Regions from separate parts of the Homo sapiens genome. Here region 2 is linked to region 1. The links are contacts of gene promoters, found by promoter capture Hi-C in blood cells and fetal thymus (Javierre and others, 2016). All regions are on one chromosome and are shown on one strand. The core of a region is centred on a gene start or on the middle of the fragment in contact, and the rest is flanking DNA. Distances in the headings are between cores, read along the strand shown.

What was found. Contacts are between HindIII fragments. The CHiCAGO score rates a contact against its expected background, and 5 or more counts as called.
Region 2: a fragment that was not itself captured here is called in contact with the fragment with the promoter of C1orf141 in region 1 in 1 of 17 cell types (naive CD4 T cells); the score reaches 5.6 in naive CD4 T cells.

The regions. Positions count from the first base shown.
Region 1 is chr1:67,131,902-67,137,143 of GRCh38, reverse strand. It overlaps C1orf141 (chromosome 1 open reading frame 141), which reads left to right and starts at 2,174. Exons shown (of 8, transcript NM_001276351.2): 1 at 2,174-2,214. The HindIII fragment of the contact is 7,094 bases long and covers 1,850-5,242 here.
Region 2 is chr1:66,952,034-66,957,275 of GRCh38, reverse strand. The region is part of intron 4 of MIER1 (MIER1 transcriptional regulator); the gene reads right to left. Among named protein-coding and RNA genes, the nearest start is that of MIER1, 30 kb to the right of the region's middle. The HindIII fragment of the contact is 2,127 bases long and covers 2,074-4,200 here.

The DNA.
Region 1 (5,242 bases), core at 925-3,424:
AAGTAAGGGCAGTTTTGGGGAATGTGCTTTCTAACTTTGTAGTTGGCCTACTTCAAAGGAAGCAGGAAAAAGTCTGCAGATTTTATTTTCTTTGTTTTCTTATAGTATACAGTTTATATTTTAAGAAATCTGTATACTTTTAAAATAAAACATTCATTAGGCTCCTTTACCCAGTATTTATCTATAATAGGTTCATGAACTCATTCAGTAAATACTGAATTTAACTGAGAGCAATTAAAGTAGTTAGGAAAAAATCCACTTGAATTCTTTTTTGTGTACATTTACCAAACATTTGTTATTAAAGAGAAAATACTTTGTACTTTGTGTTATATTAATAATTGTATTACTAATTATAAGATGCTGGGCAAATCACATAGTTTCTTTGAATTTCAGTCAGGTCTTTTCTAAAATCAAAGATAATACCCTTTCCATAGATACGAATTAAGGTTTAAGAATGAAAAGTAAAGGATGAAATTAGAACTATTTTAAAGTTGTAGCCTAGTACCTGACATGCAGAACGTGTTCCATAAATATTAACTGAGATAATGATAATATTCTAAGAATTTCATAAGATTCATGCTTTACAAATTTTATTGACTGAAGATTAATGAGTAGCTAACGTTTCTGAACTGAATTCTTAAGAAGCTAATTTTCACCTCTGTACAAATTTTTGAGCTGAAGGTATTACAACAATCTTAGACAAATCACCACTATCAACTAGATTCCAGTTATCAATTCCATACAAACCATTGTTCCTGAATGTATATGGCTTAAAAAATATAATAGAATCAAGCTACCTTGGCCAGTCGCAGTGGCTACTCACATCTGTAATCCCAGCACTTTGGGAGAACAAGGCAAGAGGATCACTTGAGACCAGAAGTTCAAGACTAGCCTGGGCAACATAGTGAGACCCCTGTCCTTACAAAAAAATAAAAATAAAAAAATTAGCCTGGCATAGTGGCATGCACCTGTAGTCCTAGCTACTAGGGAGGCTGAGGTGGGAGAACCACTTGAGCACAGGCGATTGAGGCTGCAGTGGGCTATGATCACACCACTGTGCTCCAGTCTGGGCAACAGAAAAGAATCAAACTACCTTCTACTTTTAATGATTGTATTTTTGTTTTTTAAATATTTGAAATAAATTGATTCCAGTGTTTTCATGCATTGACTATTAATATCAATTTCTAGCCAAATTTGGATTGCTACATAACTATACTTTTTTTTTTTTTTTTTTTTTGCAGTTTTGCCATTGCCACTAGCACAGACTTGTGATGATTAATTCTGGTGCTTTTTTTCCTTTTCTTCTCACAGATGTTGAAGTGCTGTTTTTTAAAGCTTTTCCCCCTATTTTGATGCATCAGATAAGGTACATTCTTGGAATGATGAACAACCCCTGACTTAAAATGTAACCAATATTGTGAAATTCCCCATCATTTTAAATTAAATACAAGCTGTTTTCAAGTCAGTCATTTTTAGATTATGGCTCTAAAAATAAATGATTCCCATGGCCTTAGTGCATTTTCTGCTCACACAAGTGAGCAATAAGGACAAATGGTTCCTTAGGATACAGTAAATACAGCAGAATGTATGTCAGTGTATCTCCATTATGTCTCATAAAAATGCTAAGTGGTATGTGTGTGTGCAGCCAAGTCTGCTACACAACTTGCGTAATACAGTGGTGATTTTACTAACCACACGGGAGGTTTCTTGGCCTTGGAAATAAGAATGGTTTTTTGTTGTTGCTGTTTTTAATATCATAAGCCATGAAAGCAATCTTCCATCAAATATTCAAATATAAACTGTTGACTTCCATTCAGACCTGCAAGCTGTATGGTGGACTTTGTAAGCTTCTTTTTGAAATTCGATGTTTCCAGGAAAGCACAAAAGGAGAAAGGAGGTACAATAAGGGGAAACAAAGTCACTGTTCCCCAGTTCTTTTTACTTGATCTTCTTCTTTTACTTGACTCTCCTTCCACTCCTTCAGCATAATCGGTTTTAATATCCGTAAGCATCTGGGGAGTCACCTGGGCTTTTAGTGACAAAAGTCTGTGGGCGAAGCCCCTCTGAGAAGAGAACTCTGCTCTCTAGGCCTTTCAGAGGTAGGCAGAGCTCGGCAACCGGTTTCTACGGACCGAGGACGCGTTGCTAAGGGACTGAAGGGTGGGGGCGGGGCGAGTAACCCGCGGAGCCAGAAGAGGGAGGAAAGGAGATGAGGTTTGTTTCAGGGTGCGGAAGGGTTGGAAGAGTTGAAAATCAAAATTTGCATGAGGGTGGGAGGCGAAATAGGAAAAACGTCGTTTTACATAAACGGCCTTTCTGTCCCCGGAGTCGGTGGGACGTTCTCCAGCGGGGCCTGGACCGGGAGAGTGTGGTTGAGGTCAGGCAAGTGTGGGACCGCGGCGAGAGGCGAGCCCGGGGGGCTCTTCCAGGTTCGCGGAAGAACCCTTTGCATCTTCTAAACTAAATATTAATGAGCTTCCTCAATGTTGCCCTTAATTTTGCTTTCCCATGAAACGACCATAGGCATAGAGCGTTTGAGTCGGGCTTCCTATGTTTCCAGCGAGATGGAGGCACCTGGGGGAAGGTGACTCGGGGCCGGGCAAGAGATGCGAGAGGCTCTGGGGGCCGCTTAATTGATACATTTCCAAATTGACGACTCCCAACATCCTGGAATGGATGGTGGAAGCTGATCGCCCCTGCGGTAATTGTGCTGCGATTTCGAGCTGGCTAATCAATTCTTGCAATCATTATCTGATTAGTCGCCCACAATAATACTCCACAATCCACGTACATCATAGTTTTAAAATTCCTTAGTAGTTTTTCTTAGAAACTTCCCTTCCAGGCCGGCGCGTTGGCTTACGCCTGTAATCCCAGCACTTTGGGAGGCCAAGGCGGGCGGATCACTTGAGGTCAGGAGTTAGAGACCAGCCTGGCCACAGTGGCGAAACCCCGTCTCTACTAAAAATACAAAAATTAGCCGGGCATGGTGGTGGGCGCCTGTAGTCCCACCTACTGGGGAGGCTGAGGCAGGAGAATCGCTTGAACCTGGGAGGCGGAGGTTGTAGTGAGCTGAGATCGCAGCCACTGCACTCCAGCCTGGGTGACAGAATCAGTGAGACCGTCTCAAAAATAAAAATAAATAAATAAGGGACAAGAAAATGCATAATGCGGAACTAAGCACATAGGTCGGGTTTTTAAATTAGTTCTCAGTGCCTGGGCTGTACTAGCTTGCTGGGACTGTCATGACAAAACATCATAGACAGAGTGGCTAAACAACAGAAATTTGTTTTCTTACAGTTCTAGACACTAAAAGTTGGAAATGGAGAGGTGGGCAGGGTTGTTTTCTTCAGAGGCCTCGCTCCTTGGCTTGGGGTGGTGGCTGCCTTCTCACTGAATCTTCACAACGACTTTCCTCTGTGTATCCTCGGTGTCCCAATCTCCTCTTCTTATATGACACCAGTCATACTGGCCAGAGGCCTACCCTAACAACCCCATTTTAACTTTACTCTTTAAATGCTGTATGTCCAAATACAATCACAGTCTGAGATCCTGGGGCCTAGGACTTCAACATACGAATTTAGGGGCAACATAATTCAGCCTATAATATGGGCCATTTATCAACATTTTAGATTTAAAGAAAAAAGATTCCCCTAAGTCTATCCTTGGAATGTGAGATGGAGATAACTCAGCCAGTTATCTAATTATTGAGTAAACATTAATCATTTAACAGATGAAGTGAGTCCCTACTGTGGTCTCAGTAGTGGACTGTGTCAGATAAGAGTGTAAGAAGTGGCCTCGTCCTCAAGGAGTAAGCATTTGAACTGATAAAGCCACATAATGGAAGTGAATTTTAATTTAAGCCTGCATTTTCTAGATAATTTCTCAGGCCTTTAGTTTGTAACTTTAGAGATTCTTAGTTTTCCTGAGTTGTTTAGAACTTGCTGAAGAACTCTTCTCAGCTGAGCCTATTATATTGACGACACTGGGTTTTGTTATTTTTTGTTTGTTTGTTTTTAGTCCCAAAGGTGCTGTTAAAATAAAATTGTTCTCTTAAAATATTTAAGACATTTTTATTTTAGATATGACTTAGTCTCTGATATGCTAATAATATTGACCTACAATTTTTGTTGAGAGCAAGTTTTTGCAGTGAGGCCTGTAGATGATTCACTGTGAGAGTAATTGGGAATTCATTCTGCCCCAATTGGCATGGCCTCTATTTCATTGTGTTCTTTAAAAACAAACGAACAAACAACAACAAAAAACTGTCACTACTGTGCTAGAAATTAAGAACATAAATCCAAGTTTCCTTTCAAAACAATTTTACCAAGTTTAGATTGGCAATAACCCCATTTTATAATAATACACTCAACTTTTTATTTCATCTTCCAGTAAATCATTATGAAGTAACATCATTTATTACAGATAAACTAGGATTACTCTTCCTAAAAATTTATATTCAGAGACATCTCCAAATTAAATTGTAATTTTCAAATCCCCGTTAGATGTAAAACGCTTTGCCTGAGGCTGAGAGTCGGAGGTGGATAAGTCAATTCTTGCTTCAAATGAGCTTTCAACCCAGTAAGGAAGAGATCTGTCAAAGAGTAAACCTCTTTTTTTTTTTTGAAATGGAGACTCGCTCGTCACCCAGGCTGGAGTGCAGTGGCACGATCACACCTCACTGCAACCTCCGCCACCTGGGTTCAGGTTATTCTCCTGCCTCAACCTCCAAAGTAGCTGGGATTACAGGCGTGCGCCACCATGACCAGCTAATTTTTTTTTGTATTTTTAGTAGACACAGGGTTTCACCATGTTGGCCAGGCAGGTCTCGACTCCTGACTTGAAGTGATCCACCTGCCTCAGCTTCCTGAAGTGCTGGGATTACAGATGTGAGCCACCACGCCCAGCGAGTAAACCTCTTAAAACCTGGTGTAGTGGCTCTTGCCTGTAATCCCAGCTACTCAGGAGGCTGAGAGGCTGGAGGATTGCTTGAGGCCAGGAGCACACAATAAATAGACTGTCACCGAGACAAGGAATGAGACAATGCCAAGGAAAGTTTCATAGAAGAGGTAGTCATGACTGGGCACTGTAATCCCAGAACTTTGGGAGGCCGAGGTGGGCGGATCACAAGGTCAGGAGTTTGAGACCAGCCTGGCCAATATGGTGAAACCCCATCTCTACCAAAAATACAAAAATTAGCTGCGTGTGGTGGCGGGCACCTGTAATCCCAGCTACTCAGGAGGCT
Region 2 (5,242 bases), core at 1,888-4,387, 180 kb after region 1:
GACCCTCCGTGGATGAAAAAGAAATGTCCATACACAATGAAATGAAATCAGCTTTCTATACAAACTACTCACTCTAACCAGTAAACAAGAAATGCACAGCATCAGGGAAACATAACAGAATTCTGATTATAAAAAGAAAATTTAATCCAAATCATGTGAACATATTATACACTCATGCACACCCACATACAATGCACATGGTCTGAAGCAAAACAGTCAGAAAACAATCAGTTTAGAAGCTAGAAAAAAAAGGGTAATCATGAAATAAGACATGGTTTATGTTTCTCCAGCAGTCATGGAAAGAAGTAAGTCTAGCTCATGTGTTAAACACATTGCTACAATGGATATGGGTAAATCAGACTGGATTAGATGATACAATTAACCTGCATCACTCAAAATCCATGTGTGGGAAGAAATTAATGATTATCATTTGAAAAGATTTTCTTAGGAAGAACTAGGAAGAAACTGTCATCCAAAACTTCTATTTCCCATTACAAATGGATATTCTGGTTATGAATGAGTTTGTGAATCTATTTCTGAAAGATAAATCAATTCCAAGACCCCTAATGATTTGCAGAAGCTACAACCTGAAAAGCGGTAACTTTATCAAGGCAAGGTATTGCCACTCTAGCTAAATAACCAGCTGGCAAACAAATGACAGCTCTTACACTGTGTCTCTCAAAGTACAACACCAACAGTGCTTTAAGTGTTCAAGTATCTGGTCCATGTACCAAGAATCTGGTACAGGACATTGGTATTTGGGAATCTGGAGAGTCAATACTCAGGAACTAAAACAAAACTTCAAAATAAGAGATAGAAGTGTAGTAAGAGAAATATAATGAAAAGGCTAGATTTATTTTTTGAGACAGGATCTTGCTCTGTCACCCAGGCTGGAGTGCAGTGGCATGATCACTGCTCACTGCAGCCTCAACCTTCAAATGATCCTCCCACCTCAGCCTCCCAAGTATCTGGGACTATACATGTGCACCACCATGCCTGGCTAATTTTTGTATTTTTCATAGAGAAGGGTTTCACCATGTTGCCCAGGCTGGTCTCAAACACCTGGATGCAAGCGATCTGCCCACCTTGGCTTCCCAAAATGTAGGATTGGAAACATGAGCCACCGTGCCCAGCCTAAAGCTAGTTTTATATACAAGAATAACAAATAGCTGTCATAAAGTATCTTCTATGTGTCAGGCATTTATGATAGATGCTTTGATTTCACTGTCTTTTTCTCTTGCAACCATGAAAGCAGTGTCAACACACACAATTTCATTAGATCTTTAGAAGTACCAAATGGAGTGCTTGCTACCTTTATTTGCAAATAAGGAAACCAGGCAGAGAAACGTCAGGCACTGATACTTTATTATAATACCCAGACCTCCTAATCTCAGGTCATGTAACGTTTCTTAAGCTCATATCCTGCACCCCAAAATCAGAAGCAAGTTTAGCAACTGATCACTATTGTGAATAAAAGCCACTGAAGTCACTAGTATGAATAAGGGCCCCAAAAGGAAAAAAACATAAGCGTTAACAGTTTGCAACTGAAATTTACATAGGCCTTAAGAGTTCATGAAAAGCTTGTTTCATTATTTATTTGATCCTCAAAACTATCCTGTTAACCACTACCTTTAATTTTTATAACTGTGTTATAACTAATCCTTTGAAACCACACAGCTAATTACATAGCCATGCTCTATTTTGAACTCATCTTCTGACAAGATCATGGTACTTCGTTCACTCCAAAAAAAGGTGTATTAGCAACCAAACAAATGCCCTCAGGCTCTCTACGATTGGTCTGTCTTATTAAGGGTATCAGAATTACCTTGAGGGCTTACTAAAATGGGCTGCTGAGCCTCACCCAACTTTCTGACCTAGTAAGTCTCCAGTGAGGCCCGAGTACCTGCAATTAAAAAAAAAAAAAAAAAAAAAAAAAAAACTCAGGTGATGCTAATGCTGCTGGTATGAGACTACCTTGAAAACCACTGATCTCACAGGTCTGGGATAAGATACCTGCAAATCACCCTTTCCAATGGGAGGTAATAAAGCTTGAACATTAACTTTAATAAAGCTTATCGTATGACATATGATATCCAGCTCAAATATTTGTCAAAAGGATAGGTGACATACTAACTACATGGAAAAAGAATTTTTCTTTTTTAACCATTATCAAGAATGTAGAATGTCTGACAATCATAGATTAAGGTTTTTCCCTCCTGGATATACAGATAAGAAGTGTGACTCACTTTGTAAAAATTCATTTCTCAGGCCAAGCGCAGTGGCTCACGCCTGTAATCCCAGCACTTTGGGAGGCTGAGGCTGGCAGAACACTTGAGGTCAGGAGTTCGAGACCAGCCTGGCCAACAAGGCAAAACCCCATCTCCACTAAAATTACAAAACAATTAGCCAGGCATGGTGGTGCACACCTGTAGTCCCAGCTACTGAGGAGGCTGAGGCAGGAGAATTGCTTGAACGCAGGAAGCAGAGGTTGCAGTGAGCTGAGATCATGCCACTGCACTCCAGCCTGGGTGACAGAGTTGAGACTCTGTCTCAAGAAAAAAAAAAAAGGAAAAAGAAAAAAATTCATTTCTCAAAGAAAAATTCTCCAACACCTCCAATATTGACTAAGCAGAGAACAGAGAGAGTCAAAAGTAGCCTGATCACAGTGCATTTAGAGGGGAAATGCTTGAATTACAATCGTAATAGAACTGGCACAGATGGAGAAAAGTCATTCAAGTCAGAGCAAATGACAAATGTATGGTACAGAAACAAAAATGAATAAGCCAGTCACCCTGATTAGAGCAGACATACCATTTACAGTAACTAAAAACAAAGTATCATTTCAGAAGGCCATACATTACTGAAAGATCAGTTATAGATTAATGAAAGTCAGGATTACTATTTTTACCTACTTTCTCTAGTTTTACGTAATTTTTAAAGGCTTCTGTTATACTCCTGACTCAATTTGAGCGTACTGAATAGTTACTGACACTCTGGAAGTATTTAGGGGAAATTACACACACAACAAAACACTCAACGTGAACTTAGGCAGGGGAAGATTTAGTTTGCTTGCCATGTGGGAATCCACTGCTATCATTCACTACACATTCACCTGTATTATGATCAGAACCTAAATTAAATTAGTGGTTGTGGAAAAGAAAAAATTGAAGAGATGCAACAGGATTCAACCAGGGATTAGGAGAGATGGAGGTCCTGGTGATGCTGAATCCCTGGTTCCATATATTCCTTGTACCCAACTACACTTTCATATACCTTCTAATAGTTTATTTTTACACAACGTTATTTTTAGATGGGCTTTATCACATGGAAAAAAAATACCCTTACTTATTCAATCAAGAAAATGCTTACTTATGCTGGGTGCAGTGGCTCACACCTGTAATCCCAGTACTTTGGGAGACTGAGGGGGACAGATCACTTGAGATCAGGAGTTCAAGACCGGCCTGGCCAACATGGTGGAACCCCAACTCTACTAAAAATACAAAAGTTAGCCAGGCATGGTGGTGTGGGCATGTAATCCCAGCTACTCAGGAGGCTGAGGCAGGAGAACTGCTTGAACCCAGGAGGCAGGGGCTGCAGTGAGCTGAGATTGTGTCACTGCACTCCAGCCTGGGCAACAGAGTGAGACCCTGTCTCAAGAATATTAAAAAAAAAAAAAAAAGGAAAAGAAAATGCTTACTTACTAGTATTAAACTTGTAACTCAAGCTGTCACCCAATATCAAGTGAGTAATATCAGCTTAGTAAGCAACAAAGAAAAAATCATCACCACCAAAAATACAAGTTGAAGCACGACAGTATAAAAAGTCTCTTATTTAATCTAAGGTAAAAGTGAAAATCTTGCAGCAAACTCCGGGCTACAACTATAATAAAAATCAGAATCAATTTTGCTGAGGAATCCTGTTTCAAATTGCAATAGCATGTATTTGTGTTCCTGCTTTGTGCTAACTGAAGTAAAGATTTAGCAAGCATAAACAAGCATCATGTAAGGATTATTTATTATTTCCCCTCCAAGCCTCTCCTACTCTCTACTTCTGTACTTGTCTTCTCACATGAAATGTTCTTTCTTCCATTCCAAGCACTTATTTTTCTTGAAAGTTCACCTCCTTGACCATAGTAGCTGACATAATTGGAATAACTGTATTCCCTGGCCGTAGATTTGGAGTGGACACATGACCCAAGCTTGTCCATACTTTGTTTCTGGAGTTTTATCAACAGCAACTTAAGAAAGAAGCATAGACTATCTCAAGTAGTAAATGTGGGAGACCTACAAACTGACAGCATAATATGAAGAAAGTTGGTCTGAAAAGACAAGTCAGGTGGGACACGGCTCACGCCTGTAATCTTAGCACTTTGGGAGGCCAAGGTAGGCAGATCACTTGAGCTCAGGAGTTCGAGACCAGCCTGGGCAACATGGCGAAACACCGTCCATGTAAAAAATACAAAAAGAATTAGCTGGGTGTGGCAGCGCATGCCCGTAGTCCCAGCTACTAGGGGGGCTGAGGCAGGAGGATGGCTTCATCCAGGGAGGCTGAGGCTGCAGTGAGCCAAGATCGCACTGCTGCACTCCAGCCTGAGTGACAAAGTGAGACCCTGTCTCAAAAACAAAAAGAGGTAAACCATGTAGAAAAGCAGAAATAGAGAAAATAAATTCTGGTGGCACTTGAGTCCCTGGGAGCAGATATATCCCTCCTTTAATGAAATTCCATGAGACTTACATGAAATTCTTCATTTTGTCTAACCTAGTTTGAGGTTAGACTGTCTGTAATCTAGTTACAGACAGATTTCTGTCTCTGCACCCCCAAATTCTGATGCTATAAACAGTAATGATATCGTGTAACGCAAATATTCCGTTATTTCCCTCTGAAAAAAGATTTAAGGATGAATAAAACTTGGCCAAAAGTAGTATACTATTGTACCAGGGCCTGTCAGTCACCTGTTCCAGAGAATTTCTAATTAGTTTATATTACCAAAGTCTGCATTCTACCAGTTACTCAAGGGCTTACTTCAACTTAAATTGAAACATCACAATAAAGTGGCACAGTGTTTTATTCCCATTCACGTAAGTGTTAAAAGAGTATAAAAAGGCGAGAACAGAGTGAAAGAAAAAATTATGTGGCAAGTTGTACATTTTCAGTTATAGGTCAGAGACTTTTTTGAGAATCTTATGAATGACATTAACTAAGATTTATTTTGTGTTTATTATGTGCCAAATATTATGTTAAG